Linked DNA regions of Homo sapiens: all the other regions are linked to region 1. The links are contacts of gene promoters, found by promoter capture Hi-C in human tissues and cell types (Jung and others, 2019). All regions are on one chromosome and are shown on one strand. Each heading gives the region's core, a stretch centred on a gene start or on the middle of the fragment in contact. The rest is flanking DNA. Distances are from core to core; before and after follow the strand shown. Region 1 holds the start of MESP1 (mesoderm posterior bHLH transcription factor 1). Region 2 has its middle 37 kb from the start of ZNF710. Region 3 has its middle 9.2 kb from the start of TICRR.

Region 1 (3,082 bases), core at 237-2,736:
TCTGCGGCCTTTTCGACCAGCTGAACACCATAATCCTCTTTAAGTGGCTGAATGGTCACACCTCTTCCATTGACAAGCTGGGTTAAGTCAATAGGTTGAGTAGGATCAACACGACCCAAATCAGTAACATATTACAGTCTATTGATACTTAAAGGTTGATACTGGTGTCTGAAGCTAAGTCCTTCATTAAATCTGTATTTTGGGATTCCGATGTAAAATAGAGTCTGGCCATCCCCAAAGCCCAGCAGAGCCAGTTTCCTCTCTGCCTTTCTCTTTTATGGCCTCTGCCGCATTTTCTACCTCTTCTCCGACCTTTTGGTCGTCTCATGGGTTTCCTGGAGCCAGGATTCCGCTTTAAATTGGTCAGGCTCATGCGCAGCAGGGCCCAGAGCTGCCATAACCTGCGAAAAGAGTTTTATTTCTTCCTTTCTGACCTGTATGTCTTTTGTTTCCTAATTGCATAGCCTAGATCCTCCATCTGGTACAATGTTGAATAGGAGTGGTAAGAGAGACACCCTCGCTTTGTTCCTGCAATCGGGGGGTGGGGGGAAGATTTCAGTCTTTCACTACTCAGTATGAGGCTACCTGTAGGTTCTTTGTAGGAGCCTTTCATCAGGTTGATGAAATTCCTCTCTATTCTTAGTTTGCTGAGAATTTTCATCACGAAGGGTGTTGGATTTTGTCAAATGCCTTTGCTGCGTCATTTCCACTCACATTTCATTGGGAAAACCTGTTATACCTGTCCAATAGCGGCAGAACATCAGGTAAAGGCCAGTGGTGACAGCTGTGGCAACAGGCCAAGCTCCAGACCTTGCCAGGCTAGAGGTGGCCTGGGGTTGGAGCAGGCTTAACCCCCTCCCTCTGCTCAGAAGGTCCAGCATCCTGACCAGACTCGGCAGCTTATTGAATTTGCCGGGGTGCAAGCTTCCTTGCACTGTCCACATGTTCTTACCAGGGAAGGGTCTACCCAGGGCCATCCTGCCTCAAAGGAGAAGTGGTTTACTGTTTTCTCCACCTTTAGAGGGAATGAGGGTCCCTGCTCCTGGTCCTTACTCTACTCCACTGTCCAATTGGCGCATGCCCTGAGGCTCTCATTATACAAATTGGAAGCTAAGGTGCAAAAGAACTAAGAATTTGCATAAGGTCCCCAACAGGTGAAGGCAGGCCCCAAACCTAGGATCTAGATTTCGTTTTTCTGACCCCGCTTCCTTTAACCTGCAGGGCTGGCCCAACGCCCCGGGCTTCACCCAACACTGGGCGCAGGCGGGAAGGCCGAGAGGCTGGGTCGGGCGCCCAAGCGAGGGCCCAGGTGGGGCGAAACAGGCGCAGTCAAGGGGCTGGCACCTTGGCCCCCCGCCGTGGATTCAAAGGGTCAGGCTCCGCCCCCTCCAAGCCCCGAGCCCACTTTGATGTGCTGATGCGGCCTGGAAGGGGCCACTTCACACCTCGGGCTCGGCATAAAGCGGCCGCCGGCCGCCGGCCCCCAGACGCGCCGCCGCTGCCATGGCCCAGCCCCTGTGCCCGCCGCTCTCCGAGTCCTGGATGCTCTCTGCGGCCTGGGGCCCAACTCGGCGGCCGCCGCCCTCCGACAAGGACTGCGGCCGCTCCCTCGTCTCGTCCCCAGACTCATGGGGCAGCACCCCAGCCGACAGCCCCGTGGCGAGCCCCGCGCGGCCAGGCACCCTCCGGGACCCCCGCGCCCCCTCCGTAGGTAGGCGCGGCGCGCGCAGCAGCCGCCTGGGCAGCGGGCAGAGGCAGAGCGCCAGTGAGCGGGAGAAACTGCGCATGCGCACGCTGGCCCGCGCCCTGCACGAGCTGCGCCGCTTTCTACCGCCGTCCGTGGCGCCCGCGGGCCAGAGCCTGACCAAGATCGAGACGCTGCGCCTGGCTATCCGCTATATCGGCCACCTGTCGGCCGTGCTAGGCCTCAGCGAGGAGAGTCTCCAGCGCCGGTGCCGGCAGCGCGGTGACGCGGGGTCCCCTCGGGGCTGCCCGCTGTGCCCCGACGACTGCCCCGCGCAGATGCAGACACGGACGCAGGCTGAGGGGCAGGGGCAGGGGCGCGGGCTGGGCCTGGTATCCGCCGTCCGCGCCGGGGCGTCCTGGGGATCCCCGCCTGCCTGCCCCGGAGCCCGAGCTGCACCCGAGCCGCGCGACCCGCCTGCGCTGTTCGCCGAGGCGGCGTGCCCTGAAGGGCAGGCGATGGAGCCAAGCCCACCGTCCCCGGTTAGTGTCCCCTTCCCCGCGCCCCCTTCGTCCGTGCCCCCGCGCACAGCCCCACCGCCCGCCAAGGTGAGGACCAGGCACCCTGCTGCTCCCCGCCGGCAGCCTGGCCACCTGGCCACCATAGTATGCCCAGGGCTCCAAGAAGCGAAGGCAGGGAAAGGCCACGCAGAGGACTGGGTCTCCCCTCGCTAGGGGCCCCCTGAGAGTGGAGCCCACGAGCGCGGACACCCGCACAAGGCCACCAGTGCTTGAGGGCTGCGCTGTTCCGTCTCTCCCTACAGCTCCTTCCGGGCGACGTGCTGGCTCTGTTGGAGACCTGGATGCCCCTCTCGCCTCTGGAGTGGCTGCCTGAGGAGCCCAAGTGACAAGGGACAACTGACGCCGTCTCTGTGAGCACCGAGGCTTTTTGGCCTCAGCACCTTCGAAGTGGTTCCTTGGCAGACTGCCTTTCCTGGAAGAGGGCACGGGCGATCCCGACGGGGGCATTCCTGCGGGTGAGAGCCGTCCCCACCGCGGCGGCCCTTCTCAGCCCCTCCCTCCATGGAGGGACCCATAGGGCTAGACACTTTGAGGCAAGCAGGAGGCTCTGCCTAATGTGAATTTATTTATTTGTGAATAAACTGTACTGGTGTCAGTTGGCAATTTCTTCTTCCTACCCGTGGACACAGAGCTCCCTCTCTCCCTCCAAAGAAGAGCATGGGAGAGGTGGGAGGGGTTCTTGCAATCTTTAGCCCCCCGACCCCCACAGGCCCAGACCCCTTTGGCCTTACCCCCAGCCCTGGCTCAGCATCTAGTCCAGATGGGTCAGCCTGGAATGGGTGGGGAGGGACGTCCTGTGAGAAGGCAGCGGCAAGTA
Region 2 (3,082 bases), core at 361-2,860, 210 kb before region 1:
GGACTCAAGCAATCCTCCTGCCTCAGCCTCCCAAATTGCTGGTATTACAGGTATGAATCACTGCCCCCAGCTTCCTCTGTCATTTGTTTTTTTTAGAGACAGAGTCTCCCTATATTGTCCATAGTGGTCGTGAACTCCTGGGCTCAACTGATCCACATGCCTTGGCCTCCCAAACTGTTGGGATTTCAGGTGTGAGCCACTGTGCCCAGCCCTCCCGTGTTATTTTTGATGGGAAAAGAAACTGGAAGCATTCTGAATTCTTTGTGAGGTGTGTTTTACTGTGGGTCAAGCCCGGAGACCTGTGGAATTGGTTTATCTCAGGGAGAGGCATGACTTGGGGGGGTCACAACTGCTGACTTCTAAGAGTCTGAGGAAGATGGTACAGGGACATTTAAGATCTTTGAGGTCCACAGACACATTTACTTTTGGAGGCCCCACCCCAGGTCACACGAAGCATGTTAAAATGCATCTGTACCCACAATTAAATAGAATCTATATCTAACAACATAACAGTCACATTGCCATTGCCTATTTGGCAAGTGTTACATTTTGCAGACAGTTAACATTTATTGTGATTGTGCCATTTTTATTTTTCGGAGTCAATCTTTTCTGTCTTCTTGTTGGTTGTTTTTTAGGTTGCAAACATTTTGTTAGACCTTGGCACTTTGCCACAGTGCCCGGTGGATGGAGCGGTGTGGGGTGTGCCAAGGCCAGTGGGTGGCACTTTAAGAGAGCCTGTGTTGGCTCAACAGAAGGAGCTTTCTAACCATGAGAGAGCTGCCTGTACCAGAAGAGCTTCCTGTTCCTGGAAATAATTTTATTTCAGGCCAGCTAACATCTACTTAGCACCTGGTGCATGCCAGGCCCTGTCCCACCATCAGAAATGCTGCAGGAAGAATTACTGTCCTCAATGGGAAGCAGGAAATGTGGTCTCTGGAGTCCCTTCCAGTCCAGTGATTTCATAGGTATGGGGGCATTGTCTAGCAGCTTGCCAGTCAAAGTGTGATTCCTGGGGCAGCAGCAGCAGCAGGATCAGTCAGGAGCTTCTTATAAATGTGAATCTCAGGCTTCACTCAGACCTACTAAATTAGAATCTGCATTTTTACAAGATCCTCCATGATCATGTACATATTACAGTTTGAGAAACAGTACTCTCACTCCCAGACAAACTTTGTTGATCTTACCAGCAATGCCATTCCTGGGCTGAACACAGCTATAAGTTTGAGGGCTCATTTGTAATTTAGGGAGGAGCATTGCCCTAATATTAACTGATAACCACCAGTGCGTGTCCCACGGACAACTCAGGGCCCCAACAGAGCCCGCCGAAGGCTCAGCCAGGGACCTATATTCTGGGGTCTAGGGTGTGCGTAGGGAGGGGGACTGCTGAGGGCTCACTGCCAGTCTCAGGGTACCCTCTGTGTTTGCAGAATCCCATTCTCTCCTGCCCAAGAAGTCTCCTTGGCTGTCCTGGGGTTAGCATGCGGCAGTCCATGGCATTCTTTGATCTGTAGGCCAAGGGCAGTTGCTGCTATGAGAGGTCTGTCACTGTGGGAGGGCAGAGCAGTGGGCACATGGAACCTGGGCAGGGTAGAATCCTGAATTTCTGTGCTACATTTTACATGCCATACTTGCAGGATGGAATGCCAGTCATAGTCACCTCCTCCCTAGACATCTGTTAACTGCCCTACTGTGTGCCCAGCACTTGGCAAACATCATCTGATTGATCTGCGTAACTAACCTCCCTAAAGTGGGGTGGCAGCTGAGGCTCACATGGGTGAGGTGACTTGCTCAGTCTGCACAGGGGCCTGGACTGCAGGCCTGATTTGAAGATGCCCAGATGTGGAGCCTGGAAGGGCTCAAGGTGGTCAGAGGCAAGCAATGGGGAAGTTATAGATAAAGCAGGAACATGAGCATGTGGCAGCCCAGCACTGGCCCTTGAAGAGTTTGCGGTCCTCAGGGTGTTAGGCAAATGCCCATGTGACTGAAATAGGGTGGAAGAACTCAGAAGGTGAAGCCTTGACTGCTGGGTGGCCACAAAGTTGCCAAAGAGCTGTGATCTCCCTCTCAGGGAACCCCGTGAAGGGCCCCGTGATGAAGAGAATGCTCTGGGCCTTAGCCGGGGCCTCCTGTCTGCAAGGCCTGGGTAAGGCTCCCCACTTGAATGCTTTCTAGTGGTTTCTTTTTTTTTTCTTTATTATTGAGACAGGGTCTCACTCTGTTGCCCAGGCTGGAGTGCAGTGGCACGGGATCATAGCTCATTGCAGCCTTGACCTCCTGGGCTCAAGTGATCCTTCCATGTCAGCCTCCTGAGTAGCTGGGACTACAGGCACATGCCACCATGCCTGGCTAATTCTTGTATTTTTTGTAGAGACAGGGTTTTTCCATATTGCCCATGCTGGTCTCAAACTCTCCTGGGCTCAAGCAATCCTCCCGCCTTGGCCTTCCCAACATGCTGGGATTACAGGCATGAGCCACCGTGCCTGACTATTACTCTTAATATCTTAGCTGATTCTTTTAGATTATTTTAGTATCTCTCTTTTTTTTTTTTTTTTGAGATGGAGTTTCGCTCTTGTTGCCCAGGCTGGAGTGCAATGGCACAATCTCGGCTCACCGCAACCTCTGCCTCCCGAGTGCAAGCTATTCTCCTGCCTCATCCTTCCGAGTAGCTGGGATTACAGGCATGTGCCACCATGCCTGGCTAATTTTGTATTTTCAGTAGAGACGGGGTTTCTCCATGTTGGTCAGGCTGGTCTTGAACTCCCGACCTCAGATGACCTGTCCGCCTCAGCCTCCCAAAGTGCTGGGATTACAGGCACGAGCCACCACACCTGGCCTATTTTAGTATATCTTACCGTTCTGATTTGTATTGTTCCGAATTATTTTTCCTTACTAAATGGTTTCATTTTCTCGTTTATCCTTTCAAACCTTTCAAGCTTTCTGGTTTCCTTTCACGTATCCTTAATTATCTGTTTTTATTGTTATATTTTCCTTTAATTAAAAAAATTGGCCAGGTGCAGTGGCTCACGCCTATAATCTTTGGGAGGCTGAGGTGGAAGGATTACTCAAGCCCAGGAATTGGAAA
Region 3 (3,082 bases), core at 157-2,656, 180 kb after region 1:
CAGGCCACTCTCTTGAGCAGAGCTTTTTTTTTTTTTTTAATATAAAAAGGAGAGCTGAGAAATGAGGTGGTAGCTAGGGGACATGAGGAGTTTAGGAAAGGGTGTTTGATGTTTTGTTAACATCAGAATATTGCAGGAGATGTTGCAGTGTGTTTGTACTTGGTTGGAAATGACAGAGATTAAATGAAAAGCTGCTGATAGAAAAACAGCGTTGGGGAGAAAGAGGACTGTGGCAGTGCAGTAGCTGGGTCCGGGGTCGGCTCTGTGACAATTTTAGGGTTCTGTTACAAAAGAGAGAAGGGGAGAATGGATATTGAGGAATAACTAGCAGCCTTAGACACACTAGGATTTGGGCAGGAACAGGGGTGAAAAGAGGAGGGTGAGTGGCTTGAGGATGGGACCCAGGGACAGGCAGTATTGATGAGAAATTATTAGGAATTCTTTCAGCTGTGAAGGCAGGAAATTGGACCAGAGTGGCTGAAGTAGATTGAAGATAGGTGGCTGCTGGTGTAGGGTCATTGGTTCAGTTGTGTCAGGGCCAATGACTGTGCTGTTCTCCCGTTTACACAGGCTCATTAACCCAGGGAAGCTGCATACACCCTGGAAGGCAATGCTTTCATAGAAACCAGCCCTCCTTTCAGATTTTGACTTCCATCCCATTTGACTGAAATGGGTCACATGGCTACTCCTAGCTGCAAGGGAGGCTGGGACATTGGGGGAGATTGTCATGCTGGGAGTTGAGGTGTTGGATGGATCGTTTGCACAGATCCCAGGGTGCTAGGAAGGTATGAAGAATGATGATGGGGCAGTGGCAGAGAGACACAGTTAGCCGTGACCAGAATACTTAGTGAATGAGGAAGAGACCTGAAGAGGACTGTGACAAAGAGGCAGGGTGTGGCCTAATGTCAATTGTTTCAAAAAGGCTGGGGGTTTATGGAGGACCGGAAGGGAGGACAGCTACCCCTATCTCAGGCCAACTGGAATGAGGATCATGAGAGGGAAAATAGCCCTCATTTGAGGAGGCCATAGGGGAAGGGTTGCCTGCAGGCATCAGCCAGTTTTCCTGCAAGGCAAGAAGGTGAAGGGAATATTCAGAGTGAAGGCGGAGGGCACAGTGGGTTTGTGTAGGGGTGCACTGCAAATTCCAGAAGACACACTAGGAAGGCTGAGGAAGGGTGGGAGATGGGGTCAGCTTATGGCTATGCAGAGCTGTAAGGGGTTAAAAATCTACATGAGGAGGATGACCTGAGCTTGAGGGTGTCCCATCTGATAGTTTTAACTTTCTCTGAGGAAGGAGGCAAGACTGAGTGAGCGGGGAGTTGGAGGAGTAGGAGTTGGGGGAAAGAGGAGAAGGTTAAAGCAGCTTCTCCGGAGAGTGGAAGGCGAGTTGGCCAGGCAGCCATGAGAAAGGCCCTGGCTGTGTTGAGGGGCCTGGCTGTAGCTTCTCTCTCGCTCTTCCTGAATTCCCCAGGCGGAATTACCACACCCTTTTCTGCATTCCTATGGCATTTTTCTAATGGAAAAGTTTAAGAACAGCCTAATAGCATGGAATTTCTACCCCTGAAAAGCATATTTGTAAAAAAGCAAAAATCGAACCTGGGTTATGGCTCTCATACCTTCGGTTTACATCAGTGATTGGATTGAAATTGTTTTCAGTTGGCTAAACTGCTCCAGAAAAAAAAAAACAAAAAACAAGTGTGGCGAGGTGGCGAGTGTTGTGTCCCAGCCAACTAGTAAACTCAAGATATTTTAATTAAGATGAGAAAAAGAAAGAATAGCGAGAATGGGCCGGGCACGGTGGCTCATGCCTGTAATCCCAGCACTTTGGGAGGCCGAGGCGGGCGGATCACGAGGTCAGGAGATTGAGACTATCCTGGCTAACACGGTGAAACCCCGTCTCTACTAAAAATACAAAAAATTAGCCGGGCGTGGTGGCGGGCGCCTGTAGTCCCATTGGGAGGCTGAGGCAGGAGAATGGCATGAACCCAGGAGGCGGAGCTTGCAGTGAGCCGAGATAGCGCCACTGCATTCCAGCCTGGGCAACAGAGCAAGACCCCTTTTCAAAAAAAAAAAAAAAAAAAAAAAAAAAAAAAAGAAAGAATAGCCAGAATGAGTTGAGGAGAGGTTTAATTACGCTTGGAGCTAAATGCAATCAAATAGATTTTTAAATGGTCTGTGTGTGAGTGTGTGTGTACACTAGAAAACTCACACACAAAAAAAGAACTATAAAAGCTTGAACTGAGGAAAAGAGTCTTTGTTTGCATAAAAATAATGAACTTGGACCACCAGAATCCCACGTAGGGTGTAATAGATGGTAAGACCCCCAGAAAGCCATAACCCCTAATGGCCCTACAAATGAAGTCAGACAAGATAAGGAAAAACTGAGGATCTGGCATGGATAGCTATGGTCAGAGAGCAGAAACCGGCCTCTTCAGGGGTAAAAACTACCCTTAGATCAAGGGAGCTCAAAATATCTCCCTGCCAGGATCTTGGTATGCTGTGGCCCAGTGAGTGTAGTGTTCTTCCTCTTCTTCCACCCTATAAATGATAGTGTTTATTGCACATGTCCAGTCCTTGTTCCAACTATGTGAGATAGATATGGGCTGGCTGACAACATGAGTTCGTTGTTTTTCTTTTTAACTTTTGAATTTTAATTATAGATCAAGTTTCTCTCTCTCTCTCTCTCTTTTTGTTATGGATACCCGGTGGCTCACACCTGTAATCCCAGCACTTTGGGAGGCTGAGGTGGGCGGATCACCTGAGGTAGGGAGTTCAAGACCAGCCTGACCAACATGGAGAAACCCTGTCTCTACTAAAAATACATAATTAGCTGGGCATGGTGGCTCATGCTTGTAATCCCAGCTACTAGGGAGGCTGAGGCACGAGAATCACTTGAACCCAGGAGGTGGAGGTTGTAGTTACCCGAGATCGTGCCATTGCACTCCAACCTGGGCAACAAGAGCAAAACTCCATCTCAAAAAAAAAAAAAAAAAATCAGACCAGGCGTGGTGGCTGATGCCTGTAATCCCAGCACTTTGGGAGGCTGAGGTGGGCAGATCACCTGAGGTCAGGAGTTTGAGAC

Evidence for each region. Contacts are between HindIII fragments. The study calls those that stand out against the background at their distance.
Region 2: a fragment that was not itself captured here is called in contact with the fragment with the promoter of MESP1 in region 1 in 1 of the 25 tissues and cell types used here (liver).
Region 3: a contact is called between a fragment that was not itself captured here and the fragment with the promoter of MESP1 in region 1, in 1 of the 25 tissues and cell types used here (hippocampus).

Annotation. Positions count from the first base shown.
Region 1 is chr15:89,749,653-89,752,734 of GRCh38, reverse strand. It overlaps MESP1 (mesoderm posterior bHLH transcription factor 1), which reads left to right and starts at 1,486. Exons shown (of 2, transcript NM_018670.4): 1 at 1,486-2,226; 2 at 2,508-2,860. The coding sequence starts at 1,504. The coding sequence ends at 2,591. It also overlaps the pseudogene MRPL15P1. RefSeq lists silencers at 1,436-1,865, 1,926-2,215. The HindIII fragment of the contact is 13,666 bases long and covers 1-3,082 here.
Region 2 is chr15:89,962,398-89,965,479 of GRCh38, reverse strand. No RefSeq gene overlaps it. Among named protein-coding and RNA genes, the nearest start is that of ZNF710, 37 kb to the left of the region's middle. The HindIII fragment of the contact is 7,091 bases long and covers 1-3,082 here.
Region 3 is chr15:89,564,724-89,567,805 of GRCh38, reverse strand. No RefSeq gene overlaps it. Among named protein-coding and RNA genes, the nearest start is that of TICRR, 9.2 kb to the left of the region's middle. The HindIII fragment of the contact is 8,051 bases long and covers 1-3,082 here.